Regions from separate parts of the Homo sapiens genome. Here regions 1 and 2 are each linked to region 3. Evidence: promoter capture Hi-C in human tissues and cell types (Jung and others, 2019). All regions are on one chromosome and are shown on one strand. Each heading gives the region's core, a stretch centred on a gene start or on the middle of the fragment in contact. The rest is flanking DNA. Distances are from core to core; before and after follow the strand shown. Region 1 overlaps HCN4 (hyperpolarization activated cyclic nucleotide gated potassium channel 4). Region 2 overlaps LOC124903571 (serine-aspartate repeat-containing protein I-like). Region 3 holds the start of HCN4 (hyperpolarization activated cyclic nucleotide gated potassium channel 4).

Region 1 (2,700 bases), core at 142-2,641, 39 kb after region 3:
TTAAAAAACTAGCTGGTGTGGTGGCAAGCACATGTGTCCCGGCTGTACAGGGGGATCCCTTGAGCTCGCTTGTACTTCAGCCTGGGTGACAGAGCAAGATCCTGTCTCAAAAGGAATAAATAAATAAAAATAAAAAACAAAAAGCTGAGCCCAAGAAAACAGACGCCTTCAAGGGTACTATTTGCAGCCCACGCAGACTCCCAGGTCATATGTGGTCACTTTCTACTCCAACAGCAGAGCTGGGCTGCCCCCACTCGCCAACATATCCTGATCCGAGGTGGAGTCCCGATAGGGAGGGCAGGCAGGATGAAGCCTGACCCCACCCTATCCCTCCAACCTTGCAAGTGGGTCAGGGTGGGTGAGAGAAGTTGAACTTGGGGCCTCGGAAGCCATAGGGCAGAGTTTCCAGTCCCCCTGTGGATGAGGTGGGTTCCAGGCAGGACAGAAGACACCCTGGATCTGTGAGCCTTTCTGTGTCTCTGGTGAACCCCTGCCTCTCCCAGGCTTCCTCCCAGTCAGTTTGGTTTGTTCTGAAGGCAAATTCCCAGGGCCCCAGGGGAGGAAAAATTGGCTTTGAAAGAGGTGAAAGAGACCCTGAGGCATCTTTCAGCATCAAACAGGCCTTTACAAAACAGCCTTTTGATGAGCTAAGTGTAAATGAATCAGCCATATGGATTGAATTCCCTGTTCCCAGAGGCTCAGCAGTAAAGGCCGCTGGGGGCCTACCCCTGTTCCCCAAGGCTGGGAACCCAGGTCTCTTCCACCCCTGGGGATGAGCCCTCCTGGTCCCCACTCCAGTCTAGACTGAGCCATCAGACCCAAGGAGCCAGCTCAGCTCTGTTCAGGGCAGTCTGGCTGACCTTGAATATGGCTCGAAGCTCACGGGCTCCTGCGCCTTCCCCTGGGGGCTGGGCCTCTGGCAGGTGCTCTGTGGGCCTGGGTAGGTTTCTGCACTGTGGCTCATGCATCTGCCCTGTGAGCAGAAAGACACCAGGGAGGTGGCCAGTGCTGGCATTCGTCAGGTTCAATGGGCCCTCATCTGGGGCAGTGTCCTCTCTATGTGAGGGTGGCAGGCCCACACATGCACTAAATTCAAGAGATGGCCCTTCCGATCCCAGTGTTCCCACGCTGAGCCTTCCTTGAGACACCGACTGGCTTTGTAGACAAAAATAGCCAAGAGCTTCCCTCCTCCTGTCCCCACGCCTTGTGTGTTCCGGAGAGTCTGCCTTGGGGGTAGTGGGAGGAGAACTGGTGGCCGCAGCCCTAGCAGAGGCGGGCAGGGTTCATGCAGGAGGCCCGTTAGCTCACAGCTTTAACTTTTGCTCATCCAAAATGAGGACAGTGTTTTTCGGCTCAGTCCGCCAGAGCTTGTCCCCCCAAGGGAAGCATATCTGGTTTTATAATTGAGGTCAGTGGGGAAATGGGCTTCACTTGGCAGCTGTTTAGGGGGTTGGGGGGTGGAGCTGTTTTAGCAAGGGAAGGACAGCACGGTGGCTCAGCCCGGGGCCTTTGCTACCCAGCCAGGAGGCTCCAAGCTGCCCCATGGGGGCTGGGCCACGCTGGCTCCCGTACCTTTACTGGGGCTTCCAGTCTGATCTCTGCCCCCATTGCAAGAGGAAGGCACAAGAGGAGGACTCGCTGGCAGCACAGGCTGCTTCTCACCCAAGGCTTTCAGCCAACAGCAAGGTTAGGGAGCCCTGGGCCCAGCCACTGAGAAAGTTAGGTTGAGGTGAGGAGGTGGCAGGGCCTTTTCTTGCTAGTGAGAAGGGCCTTCCCTCTCATCCACTGTCCCCACCCATCCGTCTGTCCACAGAACAACTCCTGGGGGAAGCAGTACTCCTACGCGCTCTTCAAGGCCATGAGCCACATGCTGTGCATCGGCTACGGGCGGCAGGCGCCCGTGGGCATGTCCGACGTCTGGCTCACCATGCTCAGCATGATCGTGGGTGCCACCTGCTACGCCATGTTCATTGGCCACGCCACTGCCCTCATCCAGTCCCTGGACTCCTCCCGGCGCCAGTACCAGGAAAAGGTAGGTCTACCCAGGGAGCACCCGCACATTGGTCCCTCCCAAGAGGGAGCACAGGCCACCAGCCAGTGGGCCCCCAGCAGGAACCGCCCCCTGCTCCCACCCCACAGGATCGGAACTCCCAGTGTGAGGGAAGAGCAGGAGGAGGGAGACACCTCTGAGATGAGAATCTGAGTTTCAGCTCCCTGGCCTGGCCCCTCCACATGTCTTTTTTTCTGTTCCCACCTTCCCCGTCTCCAGTGTCACTGGGGCCTGTGGCTCCTGGCTGAGGCCCTGTGCCCTCCGTGCTGCTCCAGTAGGCATTTGACAGTCACCACGCCCTTCCTGGCTGCTCACTCGTTCTCCAGGACCGCACTCTCGCGGTGTTGCTCCTGCCCCTCTGGCCAGTCCCCTGCCCCCATTTGCTGGCTTCTCTTCCCAGTCACTGCCACTGGAGTCCCCAGTGGCCCGGGCCTCGCCCCTGACCCTCCCTCTGTCTGGGGCCCCGGTGCTGTGGTTTCACCACCCAGGCCCACAGGCTCTGTGCCCATCTTTGCACAGTGGGGCCTGCACAGCATCAGCAGCCCCACCTCATCTCTCAGCTCCAGGTGGTTTATTTCATCCCTCTCTGGACACCCCACGCCCCTCATGTCTGTAATGAGAAGGCTGCCCTGTTCTCTCTACTCCAAGTC
Region 2 (2,939 bases), core at 148-2,647, 56 kb before region 3:
TGTATTACTCATTTTTGTAGATTGAACATTGAAGCTTGGCCAGGTGGAGTAGACACAGCTGTAAATGATTGAGCTCATTTTGACATTGGTTTGTCTTGACTTCAATGTCGTATCTCTTCATTAAATGCAACAGAAGACTAGGGAGGCTTTTGCTGGATTTTATTTTTATTCTCTTTAGCCCATGCTTCCACTGGTGTTTGACAATGATAATCCTAGTCTCCCTTGAGACTGTGTGTCTGGTGATGGGGATCCCTCTGTCCTGGCAGTGTTGGACTGGGTGTGAGTGAGAATCCCTTGGCTAGTGGGTGTCCAGCACTGGTGGCTGAAGGTAAACTGGACAGTTTTATGTCATACTCTGAGCTAATGGTGACTGCTAAGTAATAATGACTGTGATTGTGGCTGAGGTCACCAACGCAGTGGAATGGCCAGTGACATCCTCTCCCCCATTGTTTGGGTGCCCACTCAGATTGATTGATAACTGTGCCATACTGCTCATTAAATATTTTTAATGTCACCCTTAATTGTAATGTCAGGTTAAAGCTGATTTCAGAATGCTAGCCTCGTTCTATAGAGTCTATGTAAAAGGCTGGTAAAGGTGGTTTGTTACTTTTTCTGCATAAAGAACATTATTATTATGGTATTTATATTATATTTGTAATATAATAGTCTATTATAGTACATATATAAATATATTATGTATAGTATACTATAGTATGTATTATAGAAACTTATGATATATATTATGTACAAAATATATAATATATATCATATATTATAATAAATATATATTTATATAACAAACTTATAACTTACATATTGTATGTTTATATTATATAAACTTATGTAATACATGCTATAGTATACTATATATAATATTCTATAAAAGAGCATTTTTACACTTGTGGTTTTTGAACTTCCCAGAGAAATACAAATTTATTCTAAAATTTTGGAATAGGCTTAAATACATGTATTTGTTAGCTGTCCAGCCAGCATTCATTCTCTTCTCTCCCCTTCCTAACAATGCCCAGACATTTTTTCAGGTATCTTCTGCACCTTGTAGCCTATCTGCTTAAGCTAAGATCGATCAGGATAATATGATCGGAGGTGGAAATGTGATGCAATATGGCCAAAGAGACTTAAGCATCAGTTATCTGTGGCTTATGAGAAAGAAATTTCCTCTTCTTTTGAAAGCCGCCAAGAGAGGGGTCCTTTCCCTGGGACAGCATGGTGTGTGGGTGCACAGCCTGGGACTGCTACAGCTATTCTGGTACCATGAAGGGAGTCAGCCTTGGGGTAAAGCTGGAGCCAGAGATGGCAGGGCAGAAAGAGGGAAGGAAATGGGTTCCTGATGACATCACTAGAACATCTGAACCAAATCAGCCCTGAAGCTTACCCCACCTCTGGCCTTTTCAGTTACATAAGCCAATAAATCCCCTTCATTTTTTAAGTCATTTCAAATTGGATTTTCCATTTCTTGCAACTGAAAGCATCCTAAGTGATACATTACTGAAATAGATTTTTTTAGAAAGGAAGATAAAATGAAATTAATCACCCATAATTCTGCCAGGCAGTTTTATTAGTATTTTAAAATATTTTCTTAAACCTTTTCCCTCCACTGTAGTTATATATACATATATATGTATATATATAATATATTATATATAAAATATATAATTACTATTATATGTAATTGTTCACAGATGAGATAAGATGGATAAGATGGTCTATACAATTTTGTGTCCCCCTTCTCTCTAGCATTCTACCATAAGCATTTCTCCTCACCATTAAGAACTCTTTGTTTCTCTTTTTTCCTGTGCGGTAAAAAAACACATAACACTAAATTCACCATCTTAGCCATTATTGAGTATCCACTTCAGTAGTGTTAAGTATATTCACATTCCTGTGGAACAGATCTCCAGAACTTTTCCATCTTGCAGAACGGAATCTCTGCAAGTATTAAACAACTTCTCTTTATCTCTCTCCCCCAAGCTCCCGGTTCTAAGCATCATTTTAATGGCTGCATTATGTAACATCATTTGGCTTTATCAAAAATCATTTCTCCTTTTATTGGGTGTTTAAAGTCATATAATTTTTTTTATTTTTTCATGCACATTTGCTGAGCATTCCATGGGTATCACTTAGCCAGGGATAAATTTTACATTAATTTCTTACCTTGGGTTTCTGGACCATCAAGGAGTATAAATTCAAATAGCAAGCCTATGTCAAGTAAAGATCTATGGTTGCAGATTCTCAAAGGGGACACACACATACACATACAAACACACACACACACACACACACATTTGCCCAAGCAAAAAAAAAAAAGATAAGCTTTCTTGATATCTCCTTTTGTGTGAGGTGGTTAAGGTGGACAATTTTTTTTCTAGCCTACGATAGTATATACAGTTAAGGACACACACATACCCCACCAGCATTCATCATTACCATACACACTAATAGTATCCCATTGTAAACCTGTGATTCTCTACCTGTGGGCTTTTACATGGTCCATGCCATGGGTTGAACCAGAAGTACTGGGGAGTGCAAATCCTGGGGAGTGATTCTTAGTCAGTGATGAATGGGAGGAGGAGGTGTCCATGGTGAAAATCTGCTCATTAGTAGAGCCTCTCTTGACTTCCTTCTTCTACTTTTCTCTCTTCTCTAGCTTCATACCAGTGCGGTCTGGGAACACCTTCCAAATAAGCTCCTTGCATTCAAATCCTTTTCTCATCCTAAGAAGGGTGGTGCCAAAAGTGATCCTATGAAGCAGACCCTCAATATGGGGTTCTGAAATTGTATCATTTGCCAACCAGATATCAGTAAGAAGTGACTGGGGTGGCCCGGGCGCAGTGGCTTACGCCTGTAATCCCAGCACTTTGGGAGGCCAAGGTGGGTGGATCATGAGGTCAGGAAATCAAGGCCATCCTGGCTAACACGGT
Region 3 (2,700 bases), core at 39-2,538:
AATTCCTACTCTGGATGGAGGAGGCGAAAGTGGTCACATTGGGCTAAGAATGAGAGTAAAAAAATCATTTGAAGAAAAACTTGATGTTATTCCTCAGAGAGATGGCAGAGCCAGGGGACCTTTTTGCCTCCCTCCTGTGAGACTTTGCTGTGTGTCCGCTCCAGCATTAACCTCGGCTCCAGCCTTCTCTGGACAACTCCCCTCCCCTTAATGCCCAATCTGTCCCCCTATCCATTTCTGAGCTAATCTGGGGTATCAGGCTGTCCATGGTGTTGGAGGGGGTAGGGCTATACCTTAGGCTGAGCTAGTGAAATCTGTCCATAAGCCCGGACACTGTACACTGGGAGAGACTGGGAGAGAGGACACACAGTTGGATCCTTGGCGGGGGTTGGGGGGAAGGGGGCTGGGCTGCAGACTGGAAGGGAGTGGGGGCTGTGCAGCTGCTTGGGGGTGCAGGTAGGGGACTGGGTGGAACAGGAACTCACCCAGCGTGGGTCCACATAGTAGGTGTCATAATGTGGATGGGAACACAGGGAGAAGGGGCTCCAAAGCCAGTTCCAGAGTGCTGGGGCGTCCGAGGAACCGGCCCAACCGCTCCCCGCTGCAGCCGGCTTGTCCCTTTCTCGGAACTACCGAGGGAGAGGCGCGTGCGGAGGTCGGCGTTCGGATCTCGCATCCGTCACTGTTGCCGGCGCATTTCCTCGAAGTCTTACCTCGAAGGGCTGGGTCCCACCCGCGCGCCCTGTGCGTGTCTCCCTGTTTCCCCACGCCCTCCTTGCCTGGCTGCTGCGAGGCTTTGCAGGGGAAAGACTGGCGCGGGGTTCGCACCCTGCCCATGTCACAGGAAAACCGTGGGAGCCTCCCCGACGCGGCGCATTTCCGGAAGCCCCCTCTCCAGGAGGGTTGCGGGAAGGCCGGGACTCTGCATCCAGACGAACCCGGTCGCCTCCCAAGAGGAAAGTCGGAGACCCAGCTGAGGGGCAAAAATGCCAGGGAAAGGCGAGCCCAGAGCTTGGTGATGGAGAAATTGGGAAGCCACCCCCCACCCTTCAATCTTAGGATGGGGAATTCGCAACTGAAGCCGGAGCTTCAGACTTGGGGCGCACTCCCAGCTTAGCCCAGGAAAGAGATTTAAGGGCGCAGCAGTGTGGATACCTCTCACCCCGGCCCCGAAGGTCTAGCGAGGGTCTAACCTGGGCCCCTTGCCAGGCCCGCCCCCCGCCCCTTTCCAGCCCCCGGCCCGTGCGCCGCTGCCCCTTTAAGAAGCCCAGGTAGGCAGGCCCGGCTGCTGGAGCCGCTCCTATGGCAACCCGCGAGCTGCGGCGGCTTCATGAATATTCCGGGGCGCGGGAGCCCGAGCGCTGCCGGAGGGCGCTTCGGGGGAGGCGGCCGCTGATGTAAGCCCGGCGGGTCGCTGGGCTCCGCTCGGTTGCGGCGGGAGCCCCGGGACGGGCCGGACGGGCCGGGGCAGAGGAGGCGAGGCGAGCTCGCGGGTGGCCAGCCACAAAGCCCGGGCGGCGAGACAGACGGACAGCCAGCCCTCCCGCGGGACGCACGCCCGGGACCCGCGCGGGCCGTGCGCTCTGCACTCCGGAGCGGTTCCCTGAGCGCCGCGGCCGCAGAGCCTCTCCGGCCGGCGCCCATTGTTCCCCGCGGGGGCGGGGCGCCTGGAGCCGGGCGGCGCGCCGCGCCCCTGAACGCCAGAGGGAGGGAGGGAGGCAAGAAGGGAGCGCGGGGTCCCCGCGCCCAGCCGGGCCCGGGAGGAGGTGTAGCGCGGCGAGCCCGGGGACTCGGAGCGGGACTAGGATCCTCCCCGCGGCGCGCAGCCTGCCCAAGCATGGGCGCCTGAGGCTGCCCCCACGCCGGCGGCAAAGGACGCGTCCCCACGGGCGGACTGACCGGCGGGCGGACCTGGAGCCCGTCCGCGGCGCCGCGCTCCTGCCCCCGGCCCGGTCCGACCCCGGCCCCTGGCGCCATGGACAAGCTGCCGCCGTCCATGCGCAAGCGGCTCTACAGCCTCCCGCAGCAGGTGGGGGCCAAGGCGTGGATCATGGACGAGGAAGAGGACGCCGAGGAGGAGGGGGCCGGGGGCCGCCAAGACCCCAGCCGCAGGAGCATCCGGCTGCGGCCACTGCCCTCGCCCTCCCCCTCGGCGGCCGCGGGTGGCACGGAGTCCCGGAGCTCGGCCCTCGGGGCAGCGGACAGCGAAGGGCCGGCCCGCGGCGCGGGCAAGTCCAGCACGAACGGCGACTGCAGGCGCTTCCGCGGGAGCCTGGCCTCGCTGGGCAGCCGGGGCGGCGGCAGCGGCGGCACGGGGAGCGGCAGCAGTCACGGACACCTGCATGACTCCGCGGAGGAGCGGCGGCTCATCGCCGAGGGCGACGCGTCCCCCGGCGAGGACAGGACGCCCCCAGGCCTGGCGGCCGAGCCCGAGCGCCCCGGCGCCTCGGCGCAGCCCGCAGCCTCGCCGCCGCCGCCCCAGCAGCCACCGCAGCCGGCCTCCGCCTCCTGCGAGCAGCCCTCGGTGGACACCGCTATCAAAGTGGAGGGAGGCGCGGCTGCCGGCGACCAGATCCTCCCGGAGGCCGAGGTGCGCCTGGGCCAGGCCGGCTTCATGCAGCGCCAGTTCGGGGCCATGCTCCAACCCGGGGTCAACAAATTCTCCCTAAGGATGTTCGGCAGCCAGAAAGCCGTGGAGCG

What was found. The method cuts DNA at HindIII sites, captures the fragments that hold promoters and counts their contacts. A contact is called where the count stands out against the background at its distance.
Region 1: a contact is called between a fragment that was not itself captured here and the fragment with the promoter of HCN4 in region 3, in 1 of the 25 tissues and cell types used here (spleen).
Region 2: a fragment that was not itself captured here is called in contact with the fragment with the promoter of HCN4 in region 3 in 5 of the 25 tissues and cell types used here (bladder, mesenchymal stem cells, mesendoderm cells and 2 more).

Annotation. Positions count from the first base shown.
Region 1 is chr15:73,328,905-73,331,604 of GRCh38, reverse strand. It overlaps HCN4 (hyperpolarization activated cyclic nucleotide gated potassium channel 4), which reads left to right. Exons shown (of 8, transcript NM_005477.3): 4 at 1,814-2,032. Among named protein-coding and RNA genes, the nearest start is that of MIR12135, 30 kb to the right of the region's middle. RefSeq lists an enhancer at 810-1,713. The HindIII fragment of the contact is 9,003 bases long and covers 1-2,700 here.
Region 2 is chr15:73,423,137-73,426,075 of GRCh38, reverse strand. All of the region lies in intron 2 of LOC124903571 (serine-aspartate repeat-containing protein I-like), which reads right to left. Among named protein-coding and RNA genes, the nearest start is that of REC114, 19 kb to the left of the region's middle. The HindIII fragment of the contact is 4,140 bases long and covers 1-2,939 here.
Region 3 is chr15:73,367,546-73,370,245 of GRCh38, reverse strand. HCN4 (hyperpolarization activated cyclic nucleotide gated potassium channel 4) reads left to right here and starts at 1,288. Exons shown (of 8, transcript NM_005477.3): 1 at 1,288-2,700. The coding sequence starts at 1,976. The HindIII fragment of the contact is 7,967 bases long and covers 1-2,700 here.